Linked DNA regions of Homo sapiens: all the other regions are linked to region 2. The links are contacts of gene promoters, found by promoter capture Hi-C in blood cells and fetal thymus (Javierre and others, 2016). All regions are on one chromosome and are shown on one strand. The core of a region is centred on a gene start or on the middle of the fragment in contact, and the rest is flanking DNA. Distances in the headings are between cores, read along the strand shown.

Region 1 (3,656 bases), core at 981-3,480, 300 kb before region 2:
CTTCCAGGCCTAGCACCTCTGGAAATGAGGGCAGGGAAAAGCAGTACAGAACAGGCAGGGGTGCTCCCTTATCACCTGCTGGTGGTAGAGAGGTGGCCTCAGTCTCCCACTGCCTTGGTCTGATTCTGTTGCTGGATACCTAGGCAGATGTGATGGTCTTTGCCTATAGGAGCTATGTAATTTTCTTGAGATAAAGCTCTGCTTCATCTCATCCAACTTCATTTCTGAGAACCCAAACTCAAGTTATGCATATTAAACTCTTCTAGGATATCTCTCGTCCTGCAGCTCTGGGGTGGGAGTGGGGGCGGGACCATAGTAACCAACCAGCTGGGGAGTGAGGTTTCATTTCCCCCTCCTTGTAGCACTCCTAATCTAGATGAATGATTTTCTTAAACACACACTCCCGTTGTTTTTTTTTTTGCAGGGGAGTGGGGATGTTGTCAGGGGTAGGGAGAAATATACCCTCTTCCCTCTCCAATGGCAAGGATGCAGGGAGACATGTATAACTTTTGGCCATGTGTCGTGTGTCCCACAAGATACCTTATATAATGTGAGATAAGGAGGATACCTGGGCTAGTTGAGGGTAGTGAGACAAGTTTGCAACCTTGTGATAGGCCCCCTGGGCCACTTTCTAAAGTGAAGTCAACTTTAGACTTCACTTGTAAGTCTAAAGTACATGATGTTTCACTTCTGGTTCCTAACTCTGAGGTTACAGGGAGAGACCCACTCTGTTCTACTTCATGTATCACAGTTCCTGAAATGCCATTGGTTAGAAGTCCTTTGGGCAAACAACTGACCTTTTCTGCAAATCCTTCTTATCTAACAAGGCCCAGCCTAAATGTCACCTCCAAAACCTTCCTCAACTTCCACCCCTAGGAGAGTAACATTCTCTTTAGTACTTATTTTGTCATAGGACTTGTCAGACTCTATTGTAATTAATTATTATGATCATTTTACATTTCTCTCCTGTATCTTGCTGGCTAGCATGGGGTCTTACTGATCTTTCATCCTCAGCTCTCAATAATGGGCATTTATTATCCTCAATAATGTGTGTTTTGGGATGATGAGGAGCATTCAGAGAGCCATTGTAATTAGGAAGACACTTCACGTGGTTTCCAATACAGACAGGCATTATTATTGCCACGTTACAGTTGAGAAGATTAAGCCACAGAAAGTTTAACTAGCCCCAAGTAATAGTTAAATGGCAGAACCACAGTCAAACTCCAAAGACAGTGGTCTATACTAGTACACATTACTGTCAGGCTACATCCAAATTCTTAGAAAATAATTTGGACTCATCTCTGGGTACAGATAAATGAGCTTTTGAGGTCACAGAATTCTGCTTCATCTAGTGTGGCACCCGTAATCACAATTTCATTAGCACAAAATAACTGCTTTGAGCTAAGCAACTCACTCTAGAGGCTTCTGAGTACTCAATCAGATTAAAAGTAGGTGCCATCCACCCAAAACTGTTACTTCGGTTTTAAGTGAGTTGAGGAGCAGCATGTGGCCCTTATTGCTGGCTGTTTACTAAGGCCGTTTCGAGGTTGTGAAAACAAGCCTGATCCGAGTATAGCACAGTGGCCTGAGAGTGAGGACCCCGGAGTGTGACGGGTCTGGTTCGCATCTGCTTCACTACTTGCTAGCTGTGTGACCTTGGGAAAATTAACTTCCCTTTCTGAGCCTCACTTCTCTTTTCTGTAAAGTGGGGAGTATAATTCCTACTTCAATGTTGGACAGACCAAATTACAATATGTGTACACATACATACCCCTGGCACAGGGCCCTCAACACTAGCAGCTACTATTGTGAATTTCTGAGAAAGAGGATGCATGTCTTTCTATTCCCTAGAGCAGGGCATCTACAGACAGCTCATGCAAAAGTGTATAATTTAATTAAGGAAATATTTCAAGATAAAGAAAACTCAGAACCTGTCCCTATTTTATTCTGCTGGATATTGTAAACTGAACCATGAAGAGACTCCAAGGCTGAAGCTAGTATTACTGTCACTTCCATGGCTCTATGCGGGCTCATGATTCCCATATGGAGGTCAGGAAGCTTAGTATGTGACCAATTCTGCCTAAAGAGTCATTAGCAAGGGAGGGTCAATAAAGTCACAATCTTATATAAGGCATGCATCCTTCCACCTACACCTCTTCATCTTGTACCAGATCTAGATAGTGTCTCAGGTAAGCCTAAGAATCTGAGCTCAGAAATCAGATCACCTGGACTCAGATCCTGACTCCAACTTAGTAGCTGCATGACTGAGGACAAGTTATTTAACCCAACATCATGTTGCTTGGGGAAGTTTCCTTTGATGACAACACAGATGGGCAGAGATGGGCTATGATTTATGTCTTCCCTCCCAGCATGTGCATCCTGGGTCATGACACAGGTATTTGGAAGCTTAAGCCCCAGTAGGAAGCTGACCTTTCTGGATTCTATAGACCTGTGTTTAGCATTAAGTATTTTCAAAAAAGCTCTCTAAGCCAAGGGAAACAGCTTCTTCTGCCTAATAATTAAGACTTCTAAAGAATGGTGGCCACTTTGAATGACAGAGAGAAATGGGGCAGGGAGAAAGGAACTGGCATATACTGGGCCAGTTCCTTCTGTGTGCCAGATTTTACCCCCCACCCCACATGCAGATCTCCTATCGCTACCCCCTTTAAAGATCAAAAACATTCTCAGAGGTTGTCTTCATTTCACACACGAAGAGACAGTAGTTTGCCCAGGTTTACACAACTTAATTCCCCAAGTCTTTCTGATTTCAAATCCCAAGCTCTCTCCTTCACATGACACTGTTTATGACTTTTCCTTACACACCCCTGTTTACCTGATTTTAGATCCAAATATTAATATTACAGGGCTCAGGTCTTGGCCTAGGAACAAGGACTGGCATCCTCTTTTCTTCTTCCCCCAGTCTTCACAGAACTATCTAGAATTCCTCATTCAGTCACACTGTCTGAAATGTTAACAAGTAGAGACTTCCTAGGGTAAAAAGCCTCCTGGCACATTCAGATGTAGGGAAAATCCCATATTTGATTATAATAACATTTTACTTCCTCTTTCCAACTTGAAAAAAAAACTCAAGCCTTCTTGTATTACAGGTTCTCAGAAATGTTGATCCATCTTTTGTATCTAAGTTTTTATTTCTCCTTTTGCAAAAGCTGCTCTAAATACCAGCTTTGCTGCTCCGTAGGCTCTGAATGGTCAGAAGAACATTCACATTACGAGGATGACTCTGTGGAATGCTTGACCACTAAGTTTGGTAAATAGCTGGTCAGTCTTTTTCACTTTAGCCACAGCTGGGGAGGAAAGCCTCTATATGAGTGGCAGAGGCTGGCTGGCTGTTTACCAGACTCATTTCTTCTTTCTGAGGACACAGTAGCTTACATTTCCTAGCTTTCTTTGCCATTGGTTTGCTACAGCCATGCAATTGAGTTCTAGCTAATGGAATATGAGCAGAAGTGATCCACTCCACTTCCAGTGTGAGACCCCTAACTCCCCTGCTCCCCATGCACAGCCTTCCACTGTCTTCTTCCTATTGCTGGCATGAAGCACATAAGCAAGCTATCTTGGAAGCCATGTGTTGAAGCTGGTGAAGACTACAAGATGGAAGGAGCCTGGTCCCAGAATCACCACTTGGAGGAAAGCTG
Region 2 (3,686 bases), core at 363-2,862:
TTATACTGTTCCACAAGGGAAAAAGAAAGAAAGACATAAAAGGCATATCTGTGTTATTCTGGTAAATCCACCACCACCAATACATCTCAATTCTGTATCTTACTGTCAGGTGATGGTCAACTGAACTTACCCACTTACCCCTCTTCTTCCTATATACGAACAAGAGTTCACTTCTCAAGCCTCATTTTGAATACCCGTCTTTTAATCTAATTACCATTTTATATCCTTAGCTACTAAAACCACCTGGAGCATGGCTGATTTCTTGACTTGGAAACCTGTTAACAATAATGCCTAGCTCCTAATCTTCTTAATGTTTTTTCACTTCTTACCAAGAATATCCATTAAATGTCTAAAAGAAATACAAGCATACACAGATCTACACACACTGAAATCCCAGTCATGAAAAATTAAGACATTCCGGCCATAAACTGTGCAACAAGACACTTCCAGTTAGTGTGTGCTTTAGTGATCATGGACAGCGGTATCAGAGTGAGTGGTAGGGGGTTGGGGCTGCCAACAATATACTGTGCCTCAGAGCCAATAAGCAGCAGGCCGGGACTGGCAGCCAGGCCAGTCTCTAAAGGGAGATTTAACACAATATCTGAATGCTGGACTTCCCAATGCCATTTCATGGAGAGGGATGGAGCGAGAACTGGGCATCAAGTGCAGTCAAAGGCTTTGGTCAACGTCGGAGGAGATGAAACCTAAGACAAGGTCTGGTGCCAACGCCAGCTGTCCAGTCTCATCTCACCTCAAACACAACTTCATTTCAGATCGTTCTTATCAAAGTCAGCCGCTCAAACGGTGAAGGGTGGCAGAAGCGGATGGCCACAGCCCTCAAGAGACAGGCATAGGCTCTGGGAAAAGGCAGGGACTCCCCAGATACGAAGGGGCTTCCAGTAGCAGAGAGGAGCGCTTTGCAGCCGCCTCCTCGTCCCCTTCCAGCTAAGGCTGTTAGGAACGAGGTTAGGATGTTATTTGAGGTTTTTATGAAGGAATGATAGGAGAAAATGGCAATGAAGGATGAGGGGGGCTGGATGGGCTGGAGCCGCCCAAGAAAACGGGGAGAGGACTTCCCTGGACACATCCAGGATCACAACGCCACCAGCGAGCACGGGCACTGCCCTGCCAGCGCCGATCCCCCTCTCTCAGGACAAGCCCCTTTCCAAACGGCCCTAATTCCCAAACGCTGCTTCCCACCCGACCTCTCTCCTCCACCACACTCCCCAAGGCCGGCCGCCTTTCCCTTCCGCCTCAGGCGCCCCACGCCCTCAATCTCCCCTCTCCCTCCCGGTTACCCACCCTCCAGGCTGCCCGTCGCGGGCCTCCCAGGCAGCTCGCCCAGACCCCTCCCCCCTCACCTCTCCTCAGCGCCTCCTCGTAGCTGAGGAATCCGATCCGTGACTCCTTGGCACCCATGCTCCCCTCATCCCCTCGGCGGGGGGTCGGAGCCTGATCTCGCCCCCACCCCCCTCCCGCCTTCTCCTCGGCGTCCCTGGGTGACGGTGACGGTGTCGGCGTCCCCCGCCCCCACCTCCCCCCACACTAACAAGTGCGGCTTCTGCCCCGGCGGCTCCTCCCGGTCGCCGCCACCGCCTCCATGCCGGATCACGTGACTCTTCCGCCCCGCCCCCTTCCCCTGCCTCCTACTCCGCCCTTCTCTCTCCTCTCTCTCCTCCCTCTCCTTCCCTCCTCACGCCCTCTTGCCACTTCCGCCCCCTCCCGCCAGCTCCGCCGAGGGTCACGGGACCCGAGGCCAGACACTGTTCCCGGTAACGGCCGCCCAGGGCCGCACGCTCCGCCCCTCCCCAAGCTAACCGCGCGCAGGAGCGCCGGGGAGGGGGACGCATCTCCGCACGTAACGCATCGTCCCATCTTCCCGCCAATCGCAGCCGCGCGCCCCGCCCGGGCGCCTCCGCTGGCGACGGGGGGTGGTGACTTCCGGGGCGCTTGAGGACGACCCCCCCCGCCCCCGCGCCCACATGTTCTGGCGTTCGGCGGGTGGGGTCCGAGCAGCTGACGGTTAGTGTGGCAGTTGCCGGGACCTAACATGGAAGACCGCAGAATCTTAGGGAATGGGGTTCTGAGGGATGCGGCATATGGCTCAGAAGAGAAAGGAGTGGGTAGGCAGGGAGCTCCCAACCTTAGGGACGTCTTTGACTGGGAGGGCGTTGTGAAAGGAAAGGAGAATCTCAAGGCTTTCCTGTGACAAAAGAATGCTCACACCTAGCGGGAGATCCCTGAGGAAAGTGGACCTTGTTAACGAAGTGGATCTGCCTTTTCGGGTCATCTCGCCTGCCCGGCCCACCTTCTCCTCCTGACCATGCCTCTTGTACACATTCTCTGGAAAGCGCTGTGCAAAAGGCTTATCCTCTCTCCCAGAGTTTCTCCCCGAGAAACATGAGGGCTACAAGGCTTAGCGTGGAGTCGTTTTAATCTGTGGTAAAATATACGTAACAAAATGTACCATTTTCACAATTTCTAAGTGAGTTCAGTGGCGTTAAGAACATTGATATTGTTTTGCATCCATTGCCACGTCCCATTTCCCACCGTTTTTCATCTTGCAAAAGGGAAACTCTGTGCCTATTAAACGGTAACTCCCCAATCCCCCTCCCACTGGTCCGTGGCAACCGCTGTCCTACTATCAATTTCACTACTCTTAAGTATTTCCTCTGAGTGGAACTCTGCAGACTTTCTCTTTTGTGACTGGCTTATTTCACTTGGCATCGTGCCTTCCAGGTTCATGGTGTGGCAGCATGTGACTGACTCTCCCACTCCACCTCTCCATTTCCCAAAGAATGAAAAGCAGGGATGTGAACAGGTATTTGTGCCCCCGTGTTTATAGCAGCATTATTCACGAGAGCCAAAAGGTGAACACAACCTATAGGAAACCATAAATGGAGAAACCAAATGGGGTGTATATGTACAGTGGAATTATTATTTAGTTCCTTGATTTTCAACTCTTATTTAGTTTGCGTCTTCAACCTAAAAGTCACGGAATAAAGCTTCTGGAAAAGGAAGCAATATTGAAAAAGTAACCATTTGGATTAGATTGGACCCAAGGTGCCGGTTAGGTAATTTAGGGCCAGGGAAAGGTTATTAGTTCCTAAAACCAACAGATTCTAATATACCCTGCTAGAGAAAGAAGGTAATATTCTGTGTTTTTCTTTTTTTTTTTTTTGAGACGGAGTTTCACCCCTGTTGCCCAGGCTGGAGTGCAATGGCGCGATCTCGACTCACCGCAACCTCTGCCTCTCTGGTTCAAGCGACTCTCCTGCCTCAGCCTCCCGAGTAGTTGGGATTACAGGCATGCGCCACCATGCCTGGCTAATTTTGTATTTTCAGTAGAGACAGGGTTTCTCCATGTTGGTCAGGCTGTTCTCGAACTCGCAACCTCAGATGATCCGCCCGCCTCAGCCTCCCAGAGTGCTGGGATTACAGGCGTGAGCCACCGCGCCCCACCAATATTTCGTGTTTTTCTACTCACCTTTCCTGGCAAACCAGATCAGCAGCGTGGCATTAGTCACAGCGCTGCCCTTTCCAGTTCACTGTGAGGTGGTTAATTTTAAGACCTCAGATTAGCTGCATTACTGAAAGGCCATGAATCAGGGGGTTGGGAATACATTTCAAAGCCTTTAATTTCCAGGTCATTAGTTCGGTATAGAGAGACATCAGGCAAAACACCT
Region 3 (3,652 bases), core at 748-3,247, 260 kb before region 2:
GACAAAGTTTCGCTCTTGTTGCCCAGGCTGGAGTGCAATGGCACAATCTTGGCTCACTGCAACCTCCACCTCCCAGGTTCAAGCGATTCTCCTGCCTCGGCCTCCCTAGTAGCTGGGATTACAGGCATGTGCCACCACACCCAGCTAATTTTGTATTTTTAATAGAGACGGGGTTTCTCCATGTTGGTCAGGCTGGTCTCGAACTCCCGACCTCAGGTGATCTGCCCTCCTCAGTCTCCCAAAGTGCTGGGATTACAGGCATGAGCCACCGCGCCCGGCCTTATTTTTTTTTTTCAATGTAGAATATGTGTCTTCTTTTGAGAAATGTCTATTCAGATATTTTGCCCATTTTTAAATCGGATTATTCGATTTTTTTCCTATGGAGTTATCTGAGCTTCAGATGAGTGGTTTGCAAATATTTTCTCTCATTCTGTGGGTCTCTTCATTGATTGTTTCCTTCGCTGTTCAGAAGCTTCTGAACTTGATGTGGTCCAGCATGCTAAATTCAGAACATTTCCATCCCCAACATTTCACCCCAAGAAGAAACCCCACCCCCCTGAGTCATTACTTCCAAATCCTCCTCTCTCCCCCCAACCCTTGACACTCAGCCTCCCAAGTAAGTAGGACTACAGGTACATGCCACCACGCCTAATTTTCTTTTCTTTTTTGTTTTTGAGGAGATGAGGTCTTGCTATGTTGCTCCAGCTGGTCCTTCACTTATTTAATCCTACCAGCTAGTGTTCTGGTATCTCCTCTGAATTTTTAATTAATTTCACTTCCAGAGAATTAAGTATTATTTTTGTTGACAGTTTGTTCTCTCAAACAGCATTGCATTTAGTAATACTTTTTTAGTTGTTGGGGTTTTTGTTTTTTCAAATGTTACTAATTTGTTTCCCTTTCCAGCTGAAGAAATAGTGACCAGGGGAGTAAATATTCTCAGGCCACTGTGTTTGTATATTATGGACAATCAAGAAAGAACTAGGGTATGTTAGAGACAGAACTCCAGAGGTCAGGTCATCTCCGTCTACTCACTTGGTGGACTTGGCTAAGTCACGTGATCTCTCTGGGCCTCCATTTCTTCATCTATAAAATGGACTAATACTTTCAACCTAGTACATGAAAGAAAATATGCTGATTGAACCAATCCTACTCCTGTTGCAACCTCACACCAGAGCACAGGCTGGGTGTTCATGTATGTTCCCTTGCCTGGTCTCTGGCTTTCCCTCTAGGAGATATCCTTCTTAACTCTGGTGCTCCTGGGAGCTGGGCTAAAGCTGATCTCTCGATTCTTGCCTCTGCCCAGTTTCATTGCAGGCAGCCTCCACTGAACTATGCCCACATCATCATCCCTGAATGGAAGATCTATAGCATGATGAGGTTCAATCAAATCCTGCTAAACAAACAAACAAAAAGCCACTGGCCTGATCGGTTGTAATATATTCTTTACAAAGTCCTTTATGATACTTATCTTAGTAAAAAATGGTGTTAAAACTTTGCCATATATGCCAGGCATGGTGGCTCACGCCTGTAATCCCAGCACTTTGAGAGGCCGAGGCAGGTGGATCACCTGAGGTCGGGAGTTCGAGTCCAGCCTGACCAACATGGAGAAACTCTGTCTCTACTAAAAATACAAAATTAGCCGGGCGTGGTGGCGCATGCCAGTAATCCCAGCTACTCAGGAGGCTGAGGCAGAAGAACTGCTTGAACGTGGGAGGCAGAGGTTGCAGTGAGCCCAGATTGCACCATTGCACTCCTGCCTGGGCAACAAGAGCGAAACTCCATCTCAAAAACAAAAACAAAACAAAAAAAAACCCCCAACTTTGCCATATTGCTTATGTGGTATATCTTAATCTATAACAAAGTGACACCCGTGTCAGCCAGCCTACACCCCTGGAAATCAGCCTTCCTTGCTTAGGGCTCCAGCAAGGCTCTCCCCACCCTAGCTGGTCTCCTGGGAAAAAGAGGAATTCAGGCAGCAACAGTCAAGCAAGCAGGTGCTTCAGCAAGCAAGTAATCCATCTCAAGAAGCCGTAACCAGCGATCGTTCAACAATTCTTAGGAGTCTTGTGAAGTCTGCAAGCTCCATAAACGAGGGCTCTTGCATGTCCTCAGGTGAGCTCTGCTTTGTTGTCATCTTATTGAAGTGGACCCACAGCAGCAAGGTGAGCAAAGCCAAAGGAAGCCCCCTGCCTGAGTCTAGCTCAGGTGAACTGACAGTCCAGACAGGACAACCGAGAGGGACCCTGTTTTCATACTGCTATAAAGAGCTGCCCATGGCCAGGCGTGGTGGTGGGCGCCTGAGGCAGGAAAATCACTTCAACCCAGGAGGTGCGGGTTGCAGTAAGCCAGATCACACCACTGCACTCCAGCCTGGGTGACAGAGTGAGACTCTGTCTCAAAAACAAAACAAAACAAAAAGGCCGGGCACGGTGGCTCACATGTGTAATCCCAGCACTTTTGGTGGCCGAGGTGGGCAGATCACTTGAGGTCAGGAGTTGGAGACCAGCCTGGCCAACATGGTGAAACTCCGTCTCTACTAAAAATACAAAAATTAGCTGGGCGTGGTGGTGTGTGCCTGTAATCCCAGCTACTTAGGAGACTGTGTCAGGACAATCGCTTGAACCTGGGAGGTGGGGGTTGCAGTGAGCCGAGATCACGCCACTGCACTCCAGCCTAGGTGACAGAGTGAGACTCCATCTCAAAACAAAACAAAACCAAAAAACTACCCAAGACTGGGTAAGTTAGAAAGGAAAGAGGTTTAATTAACTCACAATTCTGCATGACTAGGGAGGTCTCAGGAAACTTACAATCACGGCAGAAGTGGAAGCAAGGCACCTCTTTCACAAAGCAGCAGAAAGAAGTGTGGAGTGATGGGGGAAGAGCCCCTTATAAAACCATCTGATTTCCTGAGAACTCACACACTATCATGAGAACGGCATGGTGGAAACCACCCCTACGATTCAATTACCTCCACCAGGTCTCTCCTTTGACACGTGGGGATTATGGGGATTACAATTTAAGATGAGACTTGGGTGGGGACACAAAGCACCTAACCATATCAGCCCTAAAGCCATGGCTGGAGAAGGCTCCTGCCAGAAGTCCACCCCGAAGCCCTCAGACTCCACTGTGGCCTTTCCTCACTCTGCTTCCTATCTCCATTTTTCTTTCCCTGAAGGAGGTTGCTCTATCAATGCCTCCCGTGACAACACATGCCCCCTCCTCCCCCACCCCCCAGGCTCAGCGATAAGGAAGCTGGTGCCCTGAATCCCTGCCCCACCCAAGACTCTTTCCTTTTCTTCCCACTTAGTCTACTTGAAACTCCTCTCTGTATTTTTTTAATTAAGTTACCCACCTCAGCTTTGTTTCTCAAAGGCTTTAACTTTTCCGGGAAGAGCTGCAATCGTTTCTTGGCAGGAGTAGTTTCAGGTTTGCATTGCTCTGAAAGAGACTCTCAGAAACACGGGACCTCCATTTTGGTGTCAGCACCGCACGCACCCCCACCCAAGCCAGCACCGTGGCTGGAAAGCTTACGTATAGGATAAGGGATGTGGGTGGAGTGGGAATTGACGTGGAGGATGTTGGAGATCAGATCAACAGATGCTACAAAAAAACCCAACCCCTCCCCACCGAAAGACGGCAATACTCAGGCTAG

Evidence for each region. Contacts are between HindIII fragments. The CHiCAGO score rates a contact against its expected background, and 5 or more counts as called.
Region 1: a fragment that was not itself captured here is called in contact with the fragment with the promoter of USP32 in region 2 in 5 of 17 cell types (total B cells, naive B cells, endothelial precursors and 2 more); the score reaches 9.0 in total B cells.
Region 3: a contact is called between a fragment that was not itself captured here and the fragment with the promoter of USP32 in region 2, in 14 of 17 cell types (endothelial precursors, fetal thymus, naive CD8 T cells and 11 more). The highest score is 11.2, in endothelial precursors.

What each region holds. Positions count from the first base shown.
Region 1 is chr17:60,088,968-60,092,623 of GRCh38, forward strand. No RefSeq gene overlaps it. Among named protein-coding and RNA genes, the nearest start is that of HEATR6-DT, 11 kb to the left of the region's middle. RefSeq lists enhancers at 115-184, 375-584. The HindIII fragment of the contact is 348 bases long and covers 2,057-2,404 here.
Region 2 is chr17:60,390,521-60,394,206 of GRCh38, forward strand. It overlaps USP32 (ubiquitin specific peptidase 32), which reads right to left and starts at 1,613. Exons shown (of 34, transcript NM_032582.4): 1 at 1,362-1,613. The coding sequence starts at 1,419. RefSeq lists an enhancer at 1,328-2,169 and silencers at 1,344-1,403, 1,434-1,653, 1,764-2,083. The HindIII fragment of the contact is 3,969 bases long and covers 1-3,003 here.
Region 3 is chr17:60,131,404-60,135,055 of GRCh38, forward strand. LOC100996660 (a long non-coding RNA gene) reads right to left here. Exons shown (of 3, transcript NR_187530.1): 1 at 3,353-3,652; 2 at 1,033-1,109. Among named protein-coding and RNA genes, the nearest start is that of CA4, 17 kb to the right of the region's middle. The HindIII fragment of the contact is 3,054 bases long and covers 471-3,524 here.